Linked DNA regions of Homo sapiens: region 2 is linked to region 1. The links are contacts of gene promoters, found by promoter capture Hi-C in blood cells and fetal thymus (Javierre and others, 2016). All regions are on one chromosome and are shown on one strand. The core of a region is centred on a gene start or on the middle of the fragment in contact, and the rest is flanking DNA. Distances in the headings are between cores, read along the strand shown. Region 1 holds the start of SASS6 (SAS-6 centriolar assembly protein). Region 2 overlaps EXTL2 (exostosin like glycosyltransferase 2).

Region 1 (6,362 bases), core at 3,335-5,834:
AATATTTGTATTTCCTGGCTGGATTTGGTGGCTCACGCCTATAATCCTAGCACTTTGGGAGGCTGAGGCAGGAGTACTGCTTGACACCAGCAGTTCGAGACCAGCCTGGGCAACACAGCGAGAACCCCGTCTCTATAAAAAAATAAAAAAATAAGCCAGGTGTGGTGTCGTTTGCCTACAGTCCCAGCTAGTCATGAGGCTGAGGTGAGAGGATTGCTTGAGTCCAGGAGTTCAAGGCTGCAGTGAGCTACGATCACGCCACTGCACTCCAGCCTGAGTGACAGAGTGAGACCCTATCTCTTTAAAAAAAAATTATATTTCCTGAGCTTGGGTTCCTCAGCTATGAAACAAGTACATTCCATGTGCAGCATCTACCAAGGCATTACATACCACATTTCACCATTCAATTTTACTGATCAAACACTTACAGGTTTTGGTTTCTCTCTTGAGTTACATTTTTTCAAATGCTTTGCTAGTTGATCTTCATATACTGTGCTAAATTTAAAGAGAAAATTATTTCAAATGAGACTTGTGCCAATTACTGTTTCCAGCACAAAAAAAAACCCGTATCTGATCCACACTTACTGTTTTGGATCTAAAGGACACAGGATTCTTTTCCGAGCATCTTCTTCCTAATAAATTAAGAGATACATTTATTTAAATAAAATATCAAGTTTATTGCTTACAGATACCAGATATAACTTCAGTGTCTCTGTAATCTCAAAACAAGGTAAGGAAACCTTACAAGGACATAATGAAAAGTTGGCAAAATCAGGTCCCAAGGGTTTAACAAAAACTCTCCAGTGTACTGGCTTAAATACATATGAACAAATACTGCTTTGGACAAACAAGGGTCTATAGCTTCAAACAGGGTATAGAGAAGGCCTACATATGGTGTCTGAAATCTAAGATAGCATCAACTATTATATGTATGACTATTTTATGCACAACCAAGAAAGAAAAAAATGCTGCCTATTTCATGTTAATTGACAAATAGTTGTATATATTTATCACATATTAGGTTTGTACAAAAGTAATTGTGATTTTTATGGCAATAAAAATAATATACACTATTATTTATGTATGGTTTTAATACAACATAATGTTTTCAAATATGTATACATTGTGGAATGGCTAAATCAAGCTAATTAACATGTATTGCCTCACATACTAATCATTTTTTGGAAAATGCTGCCCATTGACATATGGATTTTAAGATGTATCCTGATTTTAGAATGTTAAAATGTAAAAATAAAGTTTCTTAGAAACAATGGAACATGGCATTTTAACCATTTGGATGTGCCATATTTTACTGGCTTTGCAACTTTTTACTATCAGTTACATCCTACTCATTCCTAAGTTACATCACTTAATGACTGGGAATACATTCTGAGAAATATATCTTTAGGTGATTTTGTCATTGGGAGAACATCATACAGTATAGTAACACAAACCTAGATAGTATAGCCTACTGTACATCTAGCCTATATAGTATAGCCTATTGCTACTAGGCTGTAAACCTGTACAGCATGTTACCATACTAAATACTGTAGGCAATTGTAACACAATGTAAGTATTTGTGTATCTAAACATATCTAAACATAGAAAAGGTACAGTAAAAATACAGTATTATAACCTTATGGGACCACCATCATATATGCGGTCTGTTGTTGACTGAAATGTCATTATGTGGCACATGACTATATGAACTGGGAAAAAAGAAAGGAAAATTGATAATGTTGGCAATTCTACCCAATATTCCACATGAATCTGTATAAATAGGGGTCATATAACAGTTAAGAACACAGGCCAGCCAGACTGCCTAGGTATGATACCCAGCTCTACCTACCAGCTACGATCCCTATGACCTTAGTTAGGTAGGCTTACTGCCTCATCTGAAAGATGAGAACAAAAATATGTCTTACCTTCTAAGGTTTGAACACATTAAGTGAGCTAATAGTTAACAAAACAAAACTGCCTAGCCCAGTGCTGTACATAGAGTAAGTGGTGACTAAGTGTCTGCTATTATTATTCTTTTAAAAATTTATTTCTGTTCGAATGTGCCTCTCAGCATGTCCATGAAGCTATTCACACTGAATTTCATGGGAAAGCTAAGAAATTTTTTTTTTGAAAATACTATATATTCAATAGAAGAAAAAGAAAATACTGTATATAATTTCTTCCTTATTGCTGACTTTAAATCCTAACCTCCATGTAAAAGACTATTCTAACCCCCAGAGCCTAACTGTAGCATAGGAAAAAAAAAGCACATTTAAAATTTATTAGTTGAATTTAGAAACAGGAATTCTCAATCTTGGCACTATTGACGTTTTGGGCAGGTAATTCTTTTGAGGGGGTGAGTGCAGGGGGCTGTCCTGTGATTTGTAGGAGGTTTAGCAGCATTTCTGGTCTCTATCCATTAGATGTCAGTGATACTCCTCAGTTTGACAACCAAAATGTCTTCATTTTGCCAAGTGTTCACTGGAGGCAAAATCAGTCCCAGTCGAGAACCACTGGGTAAAAATGAGTGGTGTCATCACAGCTATATATGACACTTAGAAAAAAAGATGGAAACACAACATCCAGTTACATCATAAATTACAGATTCAGGAGGATAGCCACAATTTAAAACGAGATAGTAGTCAATAAAAGTGTTTCCACTTGATGTTTTGCGGTCTCTCTTCAAGTGTCTAATGACAATATGTCGTTCCTCTATAGGAATACTAATCAGCTTGTAAGGATTTATTCATATTCTACTATCATCACTATTTGTTTTCACCTTCCATATATCTGGATAAGGTGGAGTCTAAATCCTTCTCCTATCATAACTCTCATTCTTCAACAAGGGATGTTTGCCAGTCCCCTCAAAACCAGTCAATAGACTATGGGCATAATTCAGAGTTCCCACAACAAATCACGTCTCCCATATTCCAAAACAAGAATGTCCTTGTTTCAGTATGCTTCACTTTTGGTAAATGCCAGTCAAAACAAAATAGGAAGTAGACTACAACTATGATGGAGAGTGGCAGATGAAGGGGGTCAGGGGACTGATCTGCACTGGATATTGTCTAGAAGAATAAATTCCTTAAGAAATAAAATAATGCAAATAATACTGAACATTCAGAAGCATGAAATCTGATGCTGATCGCTTTGGTTTATTCTTTATAGTTCTGTGGAACTATAAGGACATGCTCTCTTCCTATGAGCATTTTGCTCCTCTGGTTTTTATTTTCCCATCTCATATATATCCTAAAGTAATATACATATATACAAATATAAAGTGTTTGATAGTACATTTATATGCATAATTATCAAACAAAATTGTATGCTTTGTTCTCAATTGTAAAAGGTCAATTCGTATATATTTAAAAATCTTTCCTTCCCATTCCAGCAAAGTTGCATTCTTAAAAACTGTAAGTCGAAAAAAATTTTTTTTTCTTTTTTGAGATTCAGTCTGGCTGTCACCCAGGCTGGAATGCAGTGGTGTGATCTTGGATTATTGCCACCTCCACCTCCTGGGTTCAAGCGATTCTCCTGCCTCAGCCTCCCGAGTAGCTGGGGTTACAGGCTCGCACCACCACGATTTTCTTAATTTTAGTAGCTCGCGCCACGGCTGATTTTCTTATTTTTAGTAGAGAGAGGGTTTCATCATGTTGGCCAGGCTGGTCTCGAGCTCCTGACCTCAAGTGATCCGCCCGCCTCGGCCTCCCAAAGTGCTGGGATTACAGGCGTGAGCCACCGCGCCGGGCCTCAAGTCTAAATTTTTAAAAGAAAGTTTCTTCCAACCGCATTCACGAGAAGTGCTTCTCTTTCATGAAATAACAATTAGAACACAACTAGTGAAACCTTTGGGACTTCAATCACTACTTTTTCTAAACTACCACTTTCCAGCAGGAAGACGGAGCGGTAGCTTGGGGTAAAAATTAAAACCTAGCATTACCATGAGTTAAGATCGAGATAAATAGATCAAAATAAATGGGTCACTGCTGGCGCTTTACTTAGAAAAATAAAAAATTTCTCATCACTAGAACTCATAATCGCTCCGCAAGGAGGGCAAAACTGGGTTTATTAAAGTGAAAGCTGGAGAATCCAGGGGACACAAGCAGAAAGCTGTCAAAGAGGGGAGGGGCCGGGTTCCAGCACCGACAGGACCAGGATACTTATTTCCGACTCTTGAGAGAGTAGGGCGATACCACACCTCCGCGGCTCCAGCGTGTTCACCACAAAATCTTTTCCCTGCGGCCACCACCATCCTGCAGAACCGTTTCTTCTTTTCCACATAGTAACCGCATCTACCCTCAGCTGGAAAACCAGGCGCGTGCGGCGACGTCGCGGAGGTCGCCATAATTCTAGGGCTCGCTTCCGGTGTCCAGCATCCGGCAACCAGAAGAAAAGTTAGAAGCTTCCTTCGGGTCTCCTTCCCTTAACAAACATGGCTGCCTCAGCCCCCGCGCCACACAGGTTAATACCCGGAACTACCACAACCGTCTTCCCTTTATCCTCCGCAGAACCGGAAGAATCCGATGGTGGCTGGCGAGGGCCAAGTCTCTTACGCCTTCCCCTCGTTTCTCCCTCCCCGCCTCCTCCGCAGAAGCCGAGCGCCAAACTCAAACTTTATCAGGACCCGGACCTCTCAGGCTAATCCCGAGGGCCGGGCCTGTTGGGCTTTTCTGCACACCAGCCGAGGCAGCGAGCCAACATGAGCCAAGTGCTGTTCCACCAACTAGTCCCGTTGCAGGTGAAATGCAAAGACTGTGAGGAGAGGTAAGGTCCGCGTCATCCAGTGCCCGCGGGTGGCGGTTGGGGTCAGGCCAATGGGGAAAGATGGCGGTTCTGGCCCGTGGGATCCACCTTGCACCTAGGTGTCGAGTCGGCCCCCCTAGGAAGCGGATAGGGAACCCAGAGGGCCCGGTGGTTACCTCTCTCACCAAGTCGGCCGTTGCAGAGGGGACTGGAGGAAGGGTGTGAGGAGTTAGGAAGCCGGCTCACATCAAGTTAATGTCAAAAACCCTACCTGTGCACGGAATCGTGAAGATTATAGCCCTACTCTTCCCTTTTGACAGATAAGAACTCTGGCCCAGAGAAGTTAAAAAAATTTACGTGAGGGCTCACAGCCAGTTCATGGCAGGGTCAGGACTAGAACTCAGGCCTTGGCTCCGAGCCTTTCCCCCTCGTTCTCTTTTGAAGTATGTTGGCAGTAAAGTTCAACTTTTAAAAACCTACCAATTTGGTGGCGTACTTTGGCTCTTCACATCAGTTGCTTTAAAAAAGTAAATTACATTTAACCGACTAAAAATGAGAAAAGCAGAAACGTCATTAATTCATTCAATAAATATTGCCTCCTTGTAAAACACCTTACTGGGCACTGGGAATACAGTGGTCAGGAAAAACAGTCCTTTTCTTCATGGAGTTTACAATCACTGGAGGAAATAAAGACCAGTCGCACAGAGAAGTGCAACTTTGATTAAGGAGGTGGTATTATTGGGGCGTAAATAGATTTGACCAGAGGTCAGGAGACTTACTTTTTTTTTCTCAGTTCTAACACTCAATGGTTGTCTCTTTTTTTCTCTGAACGTTCTTTCCTCATTTGTAAAACTGATATAACATGCGTATTCACGTGTTTGTAATGAGGATCAGGTGTGAAATCTTTTGCGTATTCACGTGTTTGTAATGAGGATCAGGTGTGAAATCGTATGTGAAAACTAAGTGGTGTACAAATGTAACATAAAAAATGAAGACATTGCCTTATTGAGTTGCCAGTAATGTCAAACTGTAGTATATATAGTTCAGAATTCGGTCAAAAATCAATGGCAAGCCGGTCAAGGAGATGGTCCCAAAACCAGCAGCTGCATATGGAGATCTGTAGGTTTAGTTGATCATTCTTTTAATGCTGTCCAGTATGGTAGCCACTAGCCACATGTGGTTATTAGACATTTGAAATGGGGCTTATCTGAATTGTTGTGCTTTACATATGAAAATGCACGTTGGATTTTTAAGACTTACTATGAAAAAAGAATGTAAAATATGTCAATTTTTATATTATGTGTTAAATGGCAATATTTTTGGGTATATTGGGTTAAATACAATGTATTATTAAAATTAATTTCACCTGCTTTTAAAAGTCTTTTTAAAATGTGACTTCTAGAAAATTTAAAAGTAGGCTAGGTATGGTGGCTCACACCCGTAGTCCCAGCACTTTAGGAGGCCAAGACAGGAGGATTGCTTGAGCCTAAGCTTGAGGTTACAGTGAGCTACTATTTGTGCCACTGTACTCCAGCCTGGGTGATAGAGCGAGATCCTGTCTCTGAAAAAAAAAAAAGAAAAAGAAAAAAATTAAAATTACATACCTGGCTCACATTTGT
Region 2 (6,406 bases), core at 2,477-4,976, 740 kb before region 1:
GACATTACTTTTCAAATCTGGACTGTTGAAAAGTGAGAGCTGCTGAATGACAATGATCTTCTCCTTGTCTTTGTGAACAAACTCTTCCTTTGCTTGCACATGCCTGAGCATACTGTCCTATCATGGAGAGTATGCTCTTGTCCTTCTTTGCAATTCTCTAAACTTAAACTTCAAAGGAAAATGTTAAAGACGGGGTATATATGATCTCTCTATGTCCTTGAACTATAGAGAGGAAACTTTCTACCATTACAAAACACACACCACAACATGAAACAAGCTTACAGGAATATGATGGTTACTAACCCAACCACTGCCAAGTCTCCTCAGTGAAAAACAAAATGTTGAGTAGATATCATTAGGAAAGTAAAATGAGATTTAGTTTGGAACAGAATATTCCAAAACTATTCTATTCTATTCCAAACTAAATTTAGACTACAGTCTTAGGATTGCCTATGGAATGATGGCCTAGCTTCAATTGCCTGACTTTAGCCACAAGACATGAAATCAAGAGCTTAAATATTACTATGTAAGTATACATACAGTTCACTTTTCCAAGAAGAGGGGGAGTACCAAAAATAAAATGTACAGAGGCAGTGTTATACCAAGAAGAAGAGTGACAGTAGCTCTTTGCAGTTAGTATACTTCAGCTGTGGTTAGCAGTGAAAAGTCTTATCCAGCTGTATTACATCTGTCAGTATTAAGCAATAGATGAGAGTAACTGTTTATCATAGCCAAGAAGAGAAATTGTACCAGAAGTGGGGATGAGAAGGGATAGACTATGGGTTAATTAAGGTCACCAAGAATAACATCTCATCTATTCTTTCTCAGAGATCTATTTTTTTCCTAAAGGTGTTTTAAATATGTTGTTTAGAAACTCCTGATTGGTTTTTGTTTCCAGTCTTTCTTTTCATAAGTAAATTTCTTTGAATAGTTCATTTTCCTCACTTCTGGCTTTGCACTTGAATAGAGTAGTAAAATAGATCCATGATGTGCTGAAATGGCTATGAAGACTCAGTTGCCAAAGTACAAAACAAGGACCATACCTAAAATGCTTCTGGTGGCCTGTGGAAGAGTAAGTAGCCTGGAATCAGAAGCAGAAATAGCAGAAGATTGAAAAACAGAAATAATTGAATGCCAACAGTACTACAGCAGGAGTCAGCAAGCATGGAAATGAAATGTTATTGGAATCCAGGGAATAAGAGTTTTAGGCATCTATAAAACTGTCTGAGATTTAACCTTTTCTCATATAAGCAAGGGATTTGATTACACAAAATTTTTTGACAGTGGATAGCTAGACTGTACTTATCAATTTGTTCACTACTGTTCTATGGCTATCTCTGGAAGACCCTTTAGGTACAATAAGGAAGATGGGAGAGTACATAGCTGATAATAATACCTTGTGATTTGTACTGTGAGAGATCGAGTTGTGGAAGCTGTAGGGCTGTGCCTCAGTTCAACCTGGATGTAAAGCCAGGCAATACACCCCCAAGCCCATGAACAACCTAGGCTCTCGGGGCAGATTTTCCTGTTGGAAATCCTAGCACTATTACTGAAATTACTTGGTAATCTTGGGAAGGGCATGTAATCTCTGTAAGCATCTAAACTATTAAATGGGAATAATAATAATAAATAATAAATTAGATCCAAGAACTCTCCAATGGCTTCTCATCTGGCGTATAGTAAAATCCAGACTCTAATGAGGGTCAGAGGTCCCACATAATCTGGCCCTTGCTTATTCTGATTTATTCTTTTTATAAACAGATTCTCTTCATACCCGCTACCCCAGATTATCTTTTGAATTTGTTTATTGTGTTATCTGTTTCTCCCTATCATCTCCTCTGCTACTAACAGCAGACACCTTTTGTATCTCATTAATTGCTGTATCCACAGAACCTGGAACAGTGGTGGCACAAAGTAAGTGCTCAGGAACTATCTGTTGAATGAGTAAGTACATACTGTGGTATATGAAGCACATAGTACAGGGCTGGTAAGTAATACACCTACCATAATTGTTTGCTGCCTCATGTATTATGGCTCTGTATGATTTTGTTTGGGAAAAAGTCTGCTACTACAGAAGTGTAGATTCGAAATTAATATATTACTAAGGGAAATAAAATCCCAGTTGAAAAATAATCTCAGTTCTGGAGATATAGTGATAAAATGATGGCAAATTTTTAAATGCTTAATTTTTCCAATTTTGTGTGTATAACATCTTTTGTCTGCAACTGCGTAACAAGCAGGGCAAGAAGGAAGGGAATATTAAACTGGTTTTTTAAAATCTCTTAGGCCAAATTACCTTATTGAGGAGGAAGGGAGAACTGAATTTGAATCAACTAAAATAAGATTGATATCTTTCCTCATTGGAAAAAAACATGAAAACACAGGGACTCGTAAGAATGCTAACATTTGTATGTTGTTTCCATTTCTACTCCAGGTGTTGCCACATCTGCAAACTTCCTGGGAGAGTAATGGGGATTCGAGTGCTTCGATTATCTTTGGTGGTCATCCTCGTATTATTACTGGTAGCTGGTGCTTTGACTGCCTTACTTCCCAGTGTTAAAGAAGACAAGATGCTCATGTTGCGTAGGGAAATAAAATCCCAGGGCAAGTCCACCATGGACTCCTTTACTCTCATAATGCAGACGTACAACAGAACAGATCTCTTATTGAAACTTTTAAATCATTATCAGGCTGTACCAAATCTGCACAAAGTGATTGTGGTATGGAACAATATTGGAGAGAAGGCACCAGATGAATTATGGAATTCTCTAGGGCCCCACCCTATCCCTGTGATCTTCAAACAACAGACAGCAAACAGGATGAGAAATCGACTCCAGGTCTTTCCTGAACTGGAAACCAATGGTGAGTTGCAGTGTAGTTCTCAGCCTGGAAAGGCTGCCGCTGTCCAGAGCTGGGACAGACATGTGAATTTCTGGCCTTCTGCTTAACCGTCTGGAGAAAAATGAAGGAAGTTAGTCCTAAGAAAGCACTTTGGAAAGCTTGAGGGACAATTTCCAAGATGTCAAGAAGTGGTTTCCTGGCGAAGAGGTTAATATTGTAATAAAGGATATGCTATAATTACATATGATTGCATTACAGTTGATAGTAAGATGCCATTTAGCTTATGCTTAATATATTTTTTTGCCACTCCTCTTTTCCTCCCATTCCTGACAGTTTCATGAGGTTGCAATTTGCTTAAAAGAATCTTGGCTTTATTCATTTATAGGCCCAATAGTTTCTAGGATGATGGATAATAACTGCTTGATTATTTTCCCTTCAGGCAGTTATACAATCAGTTATGATACCAAAAAAATTATTTTCTACTGGACAAATCTCCCCAAGAATACATTGCTTATTTATTGTTGGGTCAGAAAATACTTCATTTGAATGATCTATATAGACACTATTGTATTTTACTACTTTTGTTTTCATTTCCGAACTATTCAACTTAAATTTTTGTCCTTTCATTTTAGCAGTGTTGATGGTAGATGATGACACACTCATCAGCACCCCAGACCTTGTTTTTGCTTTCTCAGTTTGGCAGGTAATGTTGCTGTCTCTTTTATGAAACCGTCTTTATAAGATCTTGACTAGTACTTAACCACGGCAACATGGTTAATATAGAAGTTACCTAAAATATTTTAGATAATATTTATCTAAAAGATGGATGAATTTGTTATAGGCTAATCAAGATTTTCTGAGCTTAGTTCAGCCATCCTGAAAGTTATAGTATCTTTTATCTAGATTTAATTTATATTTTGGTGTATTGGGGAAAAGAGCTAGAACTGCCTTCCAGAGAACAATGGGGAAATGATGTGGTCCAGCAAAAACTAGAATGAGGAGATGTTTTGCCTAGACCACAGACATGTGTCTCAAATGATAAGCCTATTTCTATGTTAATAATGTGTATAACTTTTTGTAAAAGGAAGTATTTATTACCTCCACAAAATTTAATCCTGGTTCTGAGAGCATTGTTTAGAAATTTTGCAGTAATAATTTTACATGTACCATTGTGGTAGGAGGGTTTTGTTTTATTTTGTTTTGTTTTTTCCTAAATCATAGCTTGAATAAGCAGGCATAAATTGGTCAGTATCCTATAAAAGCCGCTCTCTCCTATTGAATATGTGTTAGTAATAGCTAACTTTTACAAGTTGCACTGCCATTACCTGAAACCGGAACTGCATGGAAGTACTTCGAAGCCGTGTCAAATAATTAAACACTGTGCTACCCAGTAAATGATCGAATTTATGCCATGGTAACTTTTAAAATTAGCTTCTTGGGATATAACAGCATTCGATATTAATGGTAAGTGATCACAATACTCAGCAGATATCAGCATTTTTAAAACTTCAGTTTTTAATTTCATGCCTAGTGTGCTGACCAACGAAATTTTTCCATATCAACAATTTTTTTTTCCAGTCCTTGGAATGAAATGAAATACATGAAAGCTTCTTGGACAAAAAGTTCTAATGTGATAATTCAACTGTGAGATTTCTATTGATGCTTAAAAATCCATTTGCCCAAAATGTAAAAATGGAGGCAGAATATGGGGACTGTGGTTAATTGGAACCATCTGAGTAAACTATAAATTAAAGATATATAAATATGATTTCAGGTTTTATTTTTAAAAATATCAAAAACAATTTCAGTCCATTGACCAACTTAAATTCAGTCCAACCCAAACCCTGCATAGCATAATGATCTGAGGTTTGTGTATAAGCAAGCAAGATTCGAGTAGACATTCATCTGTGTCTTTGTATTTGCCCATTACCTCCACTTTTAGTGTTTTCCCTTTTCCCTCTCTAGCCAATTGTGAAATTTCTTTCATTCTCCTAGATTGTATAAATAGCGCATCTTCTCTGAAACCTCCCAGCCTTTATCCCCCATCCCCTGACCTTCCCCTTTGCCTCCCAGCAACACAGTTGTCATTCTACCCTCAATGTGCCCATTGAATTTACCCAGCTGCACTTAAAACAACTTTCTCACAGTATTGTATTTCCTTGTTTGCATATCCATATTATACCCCTCTACCCTCTCTAGACTATAAGTGCTTTGAAATAGCATTTAACTCAGCCTCGTGTGTGTGTGTGTGTGTGTGTGTGTGTGTCCCTAGTTCTGCATCTGTTCAATAAATGAATGAAACTCAAATTATTTATGAGTGAATGAAACTTTCAACCCTATAAATTCTTACCTCTTTCCCATGCTTCAGTGTTTTTCTTTTGTTTGCTGATTGTTGTTTTATTTTTAGTCATGCTCATCTACCATCTATCCTTTCATCAAAGATTCTGATGCATCTCTCTCACATATACATAATATAAACATTTATGTTATATAGATAAGTATAAACATTTATTTATATTATCTCATTTTTTAAAAAAAGAAACACCCAAGCTGAAATGGGATAAATATAACATTGTTTAAAATCAACAGTAATTTTTATGAACATCGAAATCAACATGAAAAAGAGACAATCACACATGTAGGTCCATAATTTTATATACTCCTAAGAGATTAGAACAAATTTTCAAAACGATCCCATTATCTCTTATTTCCTACAACAAATAGCATTCAGGCAGTCAACTTTTCTCGCAGCACATTTTGAAGGATTGGACTCTTTGGTGACTGGAATTTGTTAATGTCAGATAATGTTTGAATTAGGAGAACATTTGTAAGGGTAGAATATTTGTTTTCAGAGATGTTTGGGTTGTGATGCCATTTGACCTGTAAACATATCAGAACACAGATTTATGAAGTTACCTGGAGCTAGATAAAACTGAAATGTAGAAACCAGGAATAAGGAAGAGTTGACAAATCAGTTTCATTCTCTCTGTAATAAATCATTGCCTTTTTCACTATGTCTTCTCTAAAAATATGTGACATTTTATTGTTCTTTTTCCCTCTTTTCAGCAATTTCCTGATCAAATTGTAGGATTTGTTCCTAGAAAGCACGTCTCTACTTCATCAGGTATCTACAGTTATGGAAGTTTTGAAATGCAAGCACCAGGGTCTGGAAATGGTGACCAGTACTCTATGGTGCTGATTGGAGCCTCATTCTTCAATAGCAAATATCTTGAATTATTTCAGAGGCAACCTGCAGCTGTCCATGCTTTGATAGATGATACTCAAAACTGTGATGATATTGCCATGAATTTTATCATTGCCAAGCATATTGGCAAGACTTCAGGGATATTTGTGAAGCCTGTAAACATGGACAATTTGGAAAAAGAAACCAACAGTGGCTATTCTGGAATGTGGCATCGAGCTGAGCACGCTCTGCAGAGGTCTTATTGTATAAATAAGCTTGTTAATATCTATGATAGCATGCCCTTAAGATACTCCAACATTATGATTTCCCAGTTTGGTTTTCCATATGCCAACTACAAAAGAAAAATATAAAAGTAAAACA

Evidence for each region. Contacts are between HindIII fragments. The CHiCAGO score rates a contact against its expected background, and 5 or more counts as called.
Region 2: a fragment that was not itself captured here is called in contact with the fragment with the promoter of SASS6 in region 1 in 4 of 17 cell types (megakaryocytes, M1 macrophages, monocytes and 1 more); the score reaches 13.7 in megakaryocytes.

The regions. Positions count from the first base shown.
Region 1 is chr1:100,131,152-100,137,513 of GRCh38, reverse strand. SASS6 (SAS-6 centriolar assembly protein) reads left to right here and starts at 4,584. Exons shown (of 17, transcript NM_194292.3): 1 at 4,584-4,764. The coding sequence starts at 4,700. It overlaps TRMT13 (tRNA methyltransferase 13), which reads right to left and starts at 4,351. Exons shown (of 11, transcript NM_019083.3): 1 at 4,199-4,351; 2 at 586-632; 3 at 429-495. The coding sequence starts at 4,345. RefSeq lists silencers at 2,367-2,661, 4,799-4,962 and enhancers at 4,137-4,666, 4,677-4,796, 4,201-4,803. The HindIII fragment of the contact is 1,832 bases long and covers 4,405-6,236 here.
Region 2 is chr1:100,873,932-100,880,337 of GRCh38, reverse strand. It overlaps EXTL2 (exostosin like glycosyltransferase 2), which reads left to right. Exons shown (of 5, transcript NM_001033025.3): 3 at 2,435-2,862; 4 at 3,474-3,544; 5 at 5,908-6,406. The coding sequence ends at 6,396. Among named protein-coding and RNA genes, the nearest start is that of EXTL2, 18 kb to the left of the region's middle. The HindIII fragment of the contact is 1,449 bases long and covers 3,002-4,450 here.